Linked DNA regions of Homo sapiens: region 1 is linked to region 2. The links are contacts of gene promoters, found by promoter capture Hi-C in human tissues and cell types (Jung and others, 2019). All regions are on one chromosome and are shown on one strand. Each heading gives the region's core, a stretch centred on a gene start or on the middle of the fragment in contact. The rest is flanking DNA. Distances are from core to core; before and after follow the strand shown. Region 1 has its middle 3.4 kb from the start of LINC02896. Region 2 holds the start of LARP6 (La ribonucleoprotein 6, translational regulator).

Region 1 (5,011 bases), core at 1,095-3,594, 1.4 Mb before region 2:
TTTCTCTTTCTTCTTCTCTTCTTTTTTTTTGAGACAGGATCTCACTGTCGCCCAGGATGGAGTGCAGTGGCATGATCTCTGCTCACTGCAACCTTGAACTCTGGGGCTCAAGCGATCCTCCCGAGTAGCCGGGATTACAGGCACATGTCACCACGCCAGGCTACTTTTTTTTTTTTTTTTTTTGGTCTTTTCTAGAGATAGGGTTTCACCATGTTGCCCAGGGTGGTCTTGAACTCCTAGGCTCAAGTGATCCTCCATCCTTGGCCTCCCAAAGTGCTGGGATTACAGGCGAGAGCCTCCACACCCAGCCCCTTAATGTTTCATTCTACTATTTTATTAAAGACTGAAAACCACAGTTAATAATGTGGGGATTTTGAATTTTTTAAATTTACTTTTTTTTTGAGACAGGGTCTTGCTTTGTCACCCAGGCTGGAGTGCAGTGGTGTGATCAAGGCTCACTGCAGCCTCGACCTCCTTGGGGCTCAAGCAACCTTCCTGCCCCAGTCTCCAAGTAGCTGGATTACAGGTGGTGAGCCACTGTGCCATCACTACAAGTTCCAATTTTTTTTTTTAATTTTTAAATGTTTTCTTCAGCCTGTTTGAGTTTGAACTACTACAGTTTTGTTTTGTTTTTTTTTTTTTTTTTTTTTTTTTTTGAGATGGAGTCTTGCTCTGTCGCCTAGGCTGGAGTGGAGCGGTGCGATCTCAACTCACTGCAAGCTCCGCCTCCCGGGTTCACGCCATTCTCCTGCCTCAGCCTCCCGAGTAGCTGGGACTACAGGCGCCCGCCACCACGCCCTGCTAATTTTTTGTATTTTTAGGAGAAACAGGGTTTCACCATGTTAGCCAGGATGGTCTTGATCTCCTGACCTCGTGATCTGCCCGCCTCGGCTTCTCAAAGTGCTGGGATTATAGGCGTGAGCCACCGAGCCCGGCCAGAACTACTACAATTTTTTTAGGGTCATTTGGTCCTCTCTCTCAAAAGTGCGCTTACCCTCTATCCAGGAATTTCATTTGTAGGAACCTATGCTATGTACAATTTCACTGAAGTATTGCTTGTATTAGAAAAAAAGTATGGATGATAGGCAGGTTGAATAAATGTTAATGTTTTCATGTAGCTATGTATAGGAATGCCGCTATGGAAAGACATCCAGGACACCTTGTTAAGTGAAAAAAGGTAAGTTGCCACCAGTATGCATAACATGACCCTATTTGAGTAAAAAAATAAAAAAAATGTGCATATGTTTTATAGTATTAAAAAACTTCTGGGAGGATTCAAGAGTAATTATAGTGGTTACTTCTGAGGACAGGGATTGGATGGGGTGGAAGAAATATTTTTACTTTCCAGTTTATCCTTTTTATATTGCTTGAATTTTTAAAGACCATGAACATACATTACTTTTCTAAATTAAAAACACTGGTTTTGATTTTTTAAAAATTGGAGAGGGTTTCATGTGGAAGAGAGACTCAACTTCCAAGTAGTTCTAGAAGGAAGAACTCTGACCAGTTTTGAGACAGTTTTAGGTCAAAATAAGAAAAATAAGGAAAAGCTTTGCTAGGTGTTAGGCTGAGGCTGGGATATGGAAGACAGTGTTGCTCCAGGAGGAAGTGAACTAGATGCTTCCTCTAGCTATGAGATCATGTAAGTCTTCTGGGACACAGGGTTAAATGCTCTGATATCAGACTACCTGGGCTGGCTCAAATCCCATTGCCGCTAAATAGGGCTGTGTGACTTTGAGTGAGTTATTTAACCTCTCTGTGCCTCAGTTCCATCATATGCATAGTGGGGATCATGTTGACACCTACCTCATAGAGTTCTTTTAGAATTAAGTGAGATGGCACATATAAAACAGCATAGTTACTGTTCAAAAACTGTTGAGCTTTTCTTTGCTATCTCATATGAATTGGTGGCTAAAAAGTTAAAAAGTGGCAGGGCACGGTGACTCACTCCTTTGGGAGGCCGAGGAAGGTGGATCACTTGAGGCCAGCAGTTGGAGACCAGCCTGGCCAACATGGCAAAAACCCACCTCTACTAAAAATACAAAAATGAGCCGGGTGTGGTGGCGTGTGCCTGTAGTCCCAGCTACTCAGGAGGCTGAGGCATGAGAATTGTTTGAACCCTGGAGCTGGAGGTTGGAATGAACCAAGATTGCGCCATTGCACTCTATCCTGGATGACAGAGAGAGACTGTCTCAAAAAATAAAATAAATAAAATAAAAAGGAAATCAAAGAAACAGTTTCTACAATTAGAAAGGCTGTTTTATTTTTACACCCTTTATGGAGAAGGTCAAATATTGGATTTTCAGAATTAATGGAATTATTGGGTTGGTAGAATTTCATACATGCTGGATGGCTTTGCTGACAAAAGGAATTTTTGTTTTCCAGATGCTGGCTCAGTGTTGCCCCATAGTGGCCAATCCTGGGAAGGGCTACTGGGGTTGACCCCTTCACGCTAGAGTGCTTCTAGGCTAGGGTGTGAGTTCCACAGTCAGAGCTGCCTGGCTGCTTGGCCGAAGGATGAGTGAGTCAGTCCACACCTTAGTAAGGAAAGCATGTTTGTGTGCCCTCCCATGACCCAGCCAAGAGGAAACCAAGAGCACTTTAATATGGTCTTCCCTCCCTTGTAATTTACTTAGCACGCTTCACTTTGCCTCTGCAAATGCTCAAGTTCATTTCTTGTTTAAAAACAAAGAAAGATGTCACTGAATCACTGTGCAATCTGGTGCACCCTTGGTTTTCCTCAAAGGTTGTTGGAAGAAAAGGCCACATGAAAACCATTTCTGCTTTTGCCAGAAAACTTGAGCAGGCTCTTATATTGTTATGGTCTCCTAAATAAGGTCTCATGTGAAAAATTCTTGTAAAATTTAGGGGCAGGAGAAAGTTTGTGTCCTCTGGGGCATTAGTCTGCATCCTCCTGTATGATAACGAGAGCTCTGTGACTTCACACTCTCTCTTCTCTGCTTCAGCTGCTGAGAAATTCAGTACCAGACCAGGTGCCCAATCTCAGTAATTAAATTAACCCAAATGGATAAGGTGTTTACCTCCTCCTCCTTTTCTTGGTACTGATTTTTAAAATAAAAATTTTGGCAGCTTTTTTATTGACTTTACTGCATCGTTGTACTTTGATCTATACTCAAATTCTTTTGAGAAAGAGGAAAGGAATTCACAAATTAAATGAAAAATTGAATATTGGAAGGTTTTTTTCTGGTGGCACGTTAAATGAGATATTAAGTTAGTGGTTGTACTTGGGTTTTGAGACTAACAAGCTTATAGGTCCAAGATTTCAGGTCATAATTTTTCTTTACTTGGGAAAATGAGAACCTCATGCATATCAGGCCATCAAAGAAGTTGTGAGGTGTGGTGAAAAGACAGAAAGCAGTTCAGGCTTGTTTTTTGTTTGTTTGTTTGTTTGGAGATGGAGTCTCTCTGTCACCCAGGCTGGAGTGCAGTGGCATGATCTCGTCTCACTACAACCTCCGCCTCCTGAGTTCCAGCGATTCTCCTGCCTCAGCCTCCCGAGTAGCTGGGACTATAGGCGCGCACCACCACACCCGGCTGATTTTTGTAGTTTTAGTAGAGACGGGGTTTCACCACGAGGCTTGTTTTTTATCCACTGTCACCAAGGATAATATTGAATCAGTGTGAACATTCAGAGACCGAAAAAGCTAGAAGCCCTATTCGGACCCAAAATATTTTCCCTCTGCTGTCATTTCAGACATGCCACCATTAGGGCTTCATTTCCCTGCAGTCTTCTTTAAATACCAAAACTGCCCTGGGAAGGATAAGACATCAGTTTCTTCATACTTCAGAGCAAATGGGATTGATTCCCAGGACCTCCTTTCTGTGGACTGGGTTTTTGCCTCCTCACCAAGAGACTGGGCTCCCTGGGCGAGCAGAGGCTGCTGGGTAAGAGAGATTTAGTTCTGTTTCAACAAGCTGTGGGGCCTTCGACAAGCCCCCTGACCTCTCTGGCCCCTGGTGTCCTCACGTTGCCATGAAGGGCTTTTGAGGATGCTCCAGCTCCCACATGGCCAATCCCGACTCCCCTCCCAGGGCCCCTGTTGGGCCCTGCGGCAGGTGCCAGTGGAGTCACCTTCCAGCCCGGCGGGGCCCATTAGCTCCTTGCTCTGTTGACTCTCAGGTAAAACCTTTCTTGTGTTTACTCAGCAAAGATTCTTTTAAGACGGGCTAAGCACACGGTTTACTCTGCTAACAAGCCTTGGCATTTATTGTGAGGACCTGTGTTGACTTATTCTCGAGTCTCCATTGACACTCACTGAGAAACGTTAACGCAAACACAAGGAGACATCCTGGGAGCTCTGAGGCCCGACATTGTGCTGGGGAAGGAGCTCCAGAAAGGGCCATCCTTTCTGTTTTGGTTAGAATCACCTTGAGAGTTAAAAATAACAATAATATAGGCACCATAAGAGATTCTAATGATCTCCTTTTACTTTTTAGGTTCAGTATCTGAACACTTTTGCTAAAGGTCTCTGGAAAGCTCCCTGTGTTAATTCTCGATGAGACTACGTCTGTGCCGGCCGCTTCCTGAGCCTCCTTCCATGTGCATAGGCCTGCTGCATGCTGGAGACCTGCGGCACAGCTGCCAAGTGCCCCGTGTGGTTCTGTGATCTTGGGACAGTCACTTCCTCTCTGTGGTTGTCAGTCTTCTCATCCCTAAGGTAAGGGGACGCTGTCTCCACGCTCATCTCCTCAGCTAGACTGGGGCCTCAGGCCTGAGCCCAGGGCCTAAGAGCCCTAAAAAATGTTTGCTGAATAAATGAATGAATAAGCCACATTAGCCACTCTCTCCGGTCTTGCTCCGACATCTTGTGCCTGAATCCTCCCCCAGTGCAGGCTCTGCTTTGAGTCGTACGTAGTCTGATGAGATCTGCTAATGGGGTCACTGCAGACAACCACAGAGCCCCAGCGTCTGACTCATACGCTGCGGCTGCCAAGTGGTTTCACCTGCCTCTGCCTCTCTCATTACCTCCTCTCATTCAAGCTGATGCTT
Region 2 (4,461 bases), core at 232-2,731:
GCATTATAAAGCACTGATCTATCTACTTTGTCATACACTATGGTCCAGCTTTCCTGCCCTACCCTGGTGGGCTGACTTTTCTCCCCTAACAACTGTCTCTACTGGTCTGCCCCGAATCTCTGGGTCCAGAAGTCTGACCCTTTAACCTGGGGAAGGGTGAGCCAGTAATAGAGAATGGCTCTGGGCCCAGTATTCTTCCACCCTTGAGTTGAGTATTCTCCCAGTGAAGTAGATATACGCTTGCCAGGACAATCCTGCAGAACCTTAACAGCTAAACGCCTGGGACAGGGTCCTAGAAGAAAGAGAGCTCCTAATAAGTGCCTGTTGGCATCCACCAGAATGTGCAAGTTCTGTCATTTCCCCACTCTCATGTCTATGTCTATGTTTTATCTCCTTTCAACAGCAGGAACAAAACACCAGTCCTTAAGGGCCTGGGCATTAGTGGACAGGAGCCAAGGTGCCTGAGGACAAAGCTCGGGACCCGGGACAAGGTTAAACAAGTGCCATAGCAGCTCCAAACTACCCAAAACCCAGGAACACCCCCCCCCCGCCCCCCGCAAGGCAGCAAGATGATGCAAACATAAAGGTCTGGTGGGAAAGGCTGTGTGAAAATGGGAATCCCCCAGGGCGGAGGAAGTAAAGCAGCAAGTCCTCTATCCGTCTCAAATTACCTTGAAATCCCACCTCCTGGAATCCCCCATCAGCAAGTGTCCGCTGTACCTGGCCTGCTACCACCTAAAGACTGAGCGCAGCCAGCAGGACTGGGAAAGGCAGGGCGATGATGGCAGTGAAGGGTAAGCGGGACCACTCGCAAGGGGAGGGGAAGGCGGGTAGGGATGGACTTTGCGGCGATGGGGAGGTGGTGTCTTGAGGGAGCCCACAGAGAAGAGGCCTCCTCCAGAGGAGGGGGTGGCTTGGATGGCCCGTGAAAGTCCTCCTCCTGGATCCCTGAACATCCCCACGTCCAGGCCCCTCAGATCCCGGCCGCCAGCCCTGGGAGCCTCGGTTGGGCGACGAAGCTGCGGGCTGGGGCACCGGCTGCCTCCACGGGCCGGTTCTGACTCAGGGGCTCGGCCCGGAGCTGCTTCCCCGGCGGCGGGGCTGACTCAACCCCCTCTGCCCGAGGAGTTGTCGCGCGCAGTCAGCGCCCCGAACTCGCGCGCGGCCCGGCGCCCCCTCGGGGCCCACCTCCCGGGCCAGCCGCCGCGCCTACCTGTGCCCGCGGCTCGGCTCCTCCTCGCTCGCGCTGCCCCAGCCGGGGCTGAGGTACCGGGCCGGGTCCCCGGCGCCCCGAGTCTCCGCCCCCTCCTCCTCGTCCTCCAACTCGTCCACGTCCTCGGCCTCCTGGATGGCGACGCGGATCTGCACCGCCGTCTTGGGCCCGGGCCGAGCCTCCCCGCCGGACTGGGCCATGGCTCGCGGGACTGCGGCGCCGCCGGGGTCCTCACGCCGCAAGGCCCAGCCAGCCGGTCGGCAGCGACTGCGACGAGGGGGCGGGGGCGGTGCGAGCGCGCCTGCCGCTCGGCCCAGGGGAGGGACAGGGGTCGCGGCGCCCCGCCCCGCGCCGCCGCCGCCGCCGCCGCCGCCGCCACCACCCCGACCGCTAGTGGAGCGCCCGCGCAGGCGGGGCCTCGGAGGTGGAGGGCGGCTTTCCGGAGCTCCTCCGACGGAGGCCCGTCCCGGAAGGATCCCCGCGACCCCCGATCACTCCCTCCGTCTTTTCGCCGCTGTGGGGCCCCAGCCCGAGAGGAGGTGTCAGGGCTCCCTCCTCCTGCGCCTTCTTTCACGGCGCCGCAGGGATGGGCGCAGCACAGCTGACTTCTGTTTGTGCTTGACTCCGGGGGTGGCAGCCAGAGACCACAGCTCCAGGGGCTTCCAGGCCTCCTGCGTGTCTCCCCCACTGGCCTGCCAAGATCAGAAAATTTCCATCGTTAGTCTCCTTGACATAATAACCACCCTAGACCGCGTCTTAGGAGGTCAGGGGCTTGGCTCCTGCCTTGCCCTGTATCAGTTTTTCTCCAAGTGTGGTTCCCAGACCAGGAGCATCAGCTGCACCGGGGAACTTGTTAGAAATTGAATTCTCAGGGCTCATCCAGACCTCCTGAATCAGAATCTATGATTCAGAACTTTGTGTTTTAACAAGGCCTCTAGGTGATGCTGAAGTTCACAAAAGTTCGAAAGCCGATGGCCTATAGAGTATGCCCTGCACATAGTATGCACTCAGATGTTTGTTGAATGAATAAAGGGAGCTATTGAAATGTCAGGATGTTCTAAAACACTGCCACCTTTTCACGTGTAACTTCAAATTGAGTTCCATCTCACCTCTCCAAATGTGACCCAGAAACTAGGGACAGGAGCATAGAAATGAATAAGACCGGCCGGGCGCAGTGGCTCAAGCCTGTAATCTCAGCACTTTGGGAGGCCCAGGCGGGCGGATCACGAGGTCAAGAGATCGAGACCATCCTGGCCAACATGGTGAAACCCTGTCTTTACTAAAAAAAATACAAAAATTAGCTGGACGTGGTGGCACGTGCCTGTAATCCCAGCTACTCGGGAGGCTGAGGCAGGAGAATCACTTGAACCTGGGAAGCAGAGGTTGTGGTGAGCCGAGATTGTGCCACTGCACTCCAGCCTGGGCAACAGAGCGAGACTCCGTCTCAAAAAAAAAAAAAAGAAAAAGAAAAAAAAAGAAAGAAGGAAAGAAGAAAAAGAAATGAATAAGACCTGAATCTGCTTTCATGTAGCACTTTATTTAGAGCCTTAAACATAATTTATCATATTAATTTGCCACACTGGGACCCCAAAACAACAGAACCCTGGACCAATACATTTGTTTTGATATAGAAAGACAAGTTAGGATAGGCTTAGGAAATGAGGTCTCCTGGAGGGCAGTGTCCTTGTAAAAGAACACCATGTATAGGGTCCTGGGTGTCTGGGCAGGGCTGGGGAGAGACCCAGGGGCCCAGCGAGGACAGCCCCTCTTCTTAAGGACACTAGAATCTGTGTCCCTTTCTTTGTCGGACCTCTGTTTTGATAGAAGAGGTCCTAAAATAAGTAAGTAAAGGAAGAGAGAGAGACCTTTGGTGCTATTGCTGTTTCTGCACCAGAACAGCTCACAGCCCTGGATCTGAGCTACTGGGAAAGGAAGAGGCAAGAGGCTGACAGTGTCTTTTTCCAGCCAGCTGTGCCTCCCTCCAGGGCTATAGATCCTCTGCAAACACCTGTGATGAGGCTCAGAAGGAAAGAGCTGCAGCAGCCACCATGCCTTCCAGTTTGATAATTTCGGTTCCTGAATTTCACAAAGTGATACCCATTATCTATCTCATTTAAGCCATCTCGTGTGGCAAAGACATCAGGGGTTGTTATCCTTACCCACAATGATGGCTCACATTCATCTCAGGTTTTATAGTTTATGAACAATTCATACATGTCTTTTCAGGGTTTCCAAATGCCTGATCATAAGAGTCCCCTGGGGACTTTTCTTAAAATATAGATTCTGAAAATACAGTTTGAAAACTGACAGTTGGTGGGTGAATCTGGGCTGTAGAAGCGTTTTACTTGGTGAGAGTTTTGAAAAAAAGAAATTGAATTTATATGTCCTTACATTCAAACATATCTGCCTATGTTGTTTCTGTTATTACTTATTTCTGACTCCTCATAAAGGAATTTTGGATCTAGAAAGAATGTCAGACATCATCCAGCTCGGAGCTGCTCCTGGTAGGGAATGGGTAGTCTGGCAGAGTACCCAAGAATGGGTACTCTTAGGGGTACCCATTAAGTCATAGCATAAATATGGGGCATCTTTCTGGGGTATCAATTTTACTTAGCTATTTGAGAGAACAGCCACAATGTATATATTAAAACAACTTGGAATATCTGTGAAATCAAATGCAAAACTTGCACGGAATGTTTAAGGCAACTCACATAAGTTTCTCATTTATAGTAGTTGGCTTAGAATAATGCCTAGAGGAGCGGAGGACAGAAACCCTCATTTGCACTAGGGGTATTTCATGGGAGAAGTCCAACTCGATCACGTTTGCAATGAGGAGAGTGAGTCCCAGTGAGGCTTAGAGGGAAGGGCCTCTTCTTCCACTTTGTTGCACCCGATTTTGTCTAGCAGGGAGCCTTCATCTAGGAACACTTGCTGATTTGCTTTGATTAGTCCTACCCACATACCCATCATTTGTGTCACTGGTGAAGAAACCAGGGCTTTTAAAGGGCTCCTTTCGATTTCCAGCTTATTCCTCCCCAGAGCCGTGGCAGGGGAAGGGAGGCCAGTCCCACCCAGGCCTGTCTTGAACATCATTGCAGGGAGTTTGCATCACCACTGAGATGATTAGCAAAGCCTCTTTAAACAAAATCATGACCTCAGCCTGGAGTTGGCATCTTTCCCTTCCCTGGAATCTTGACAGCTCATTTTCATAGTAAACTCACAAGGGGAAACAGCTTTTTCCATAGCTC

Evidence for each region. Contacts are between HindIII fragments. The study calls those that stand out against the background at their distance.
Region 1: a fragment that was not itself captured here is called in contact with the fragment with the promoter of LARP6 in region 2 in 1 of the 25 tissues and cell types used here (spleen).

The regions. Positions count from the first base shown.
Region 1 is chr15:69,463,715-69,468,725 of GRCh38, forward strand. No RefSeq gene overlaps it. Among named protein-coding and RNA genes, the nearest start is that of LINC02896, 3.4 kb to the left of the region's middle. RefSeq lists an enhancer at 4,629-4,828. The HindIII fragment of the contact is 4,515 bases long and covers 88-4,602 here.
Region 2 is chr15:70,852,676-70,857,136 of GRCh38, forward strand. It overlaps LARP6 (La ribonucleoprotein 6, translational regulator), which reads right to left and starts at 1,482. Exons shown (of 3, transcript NM_018357.4): 1 at 1,214-1,482. The coding sequence starts at 1,413. It also overlaps a transcript of LRRC49 not described here. RefSeq lists an enhancer at 871-1,372. The HindIII fragment of the contact is 12,354 bases long and covers 1-4,461 here.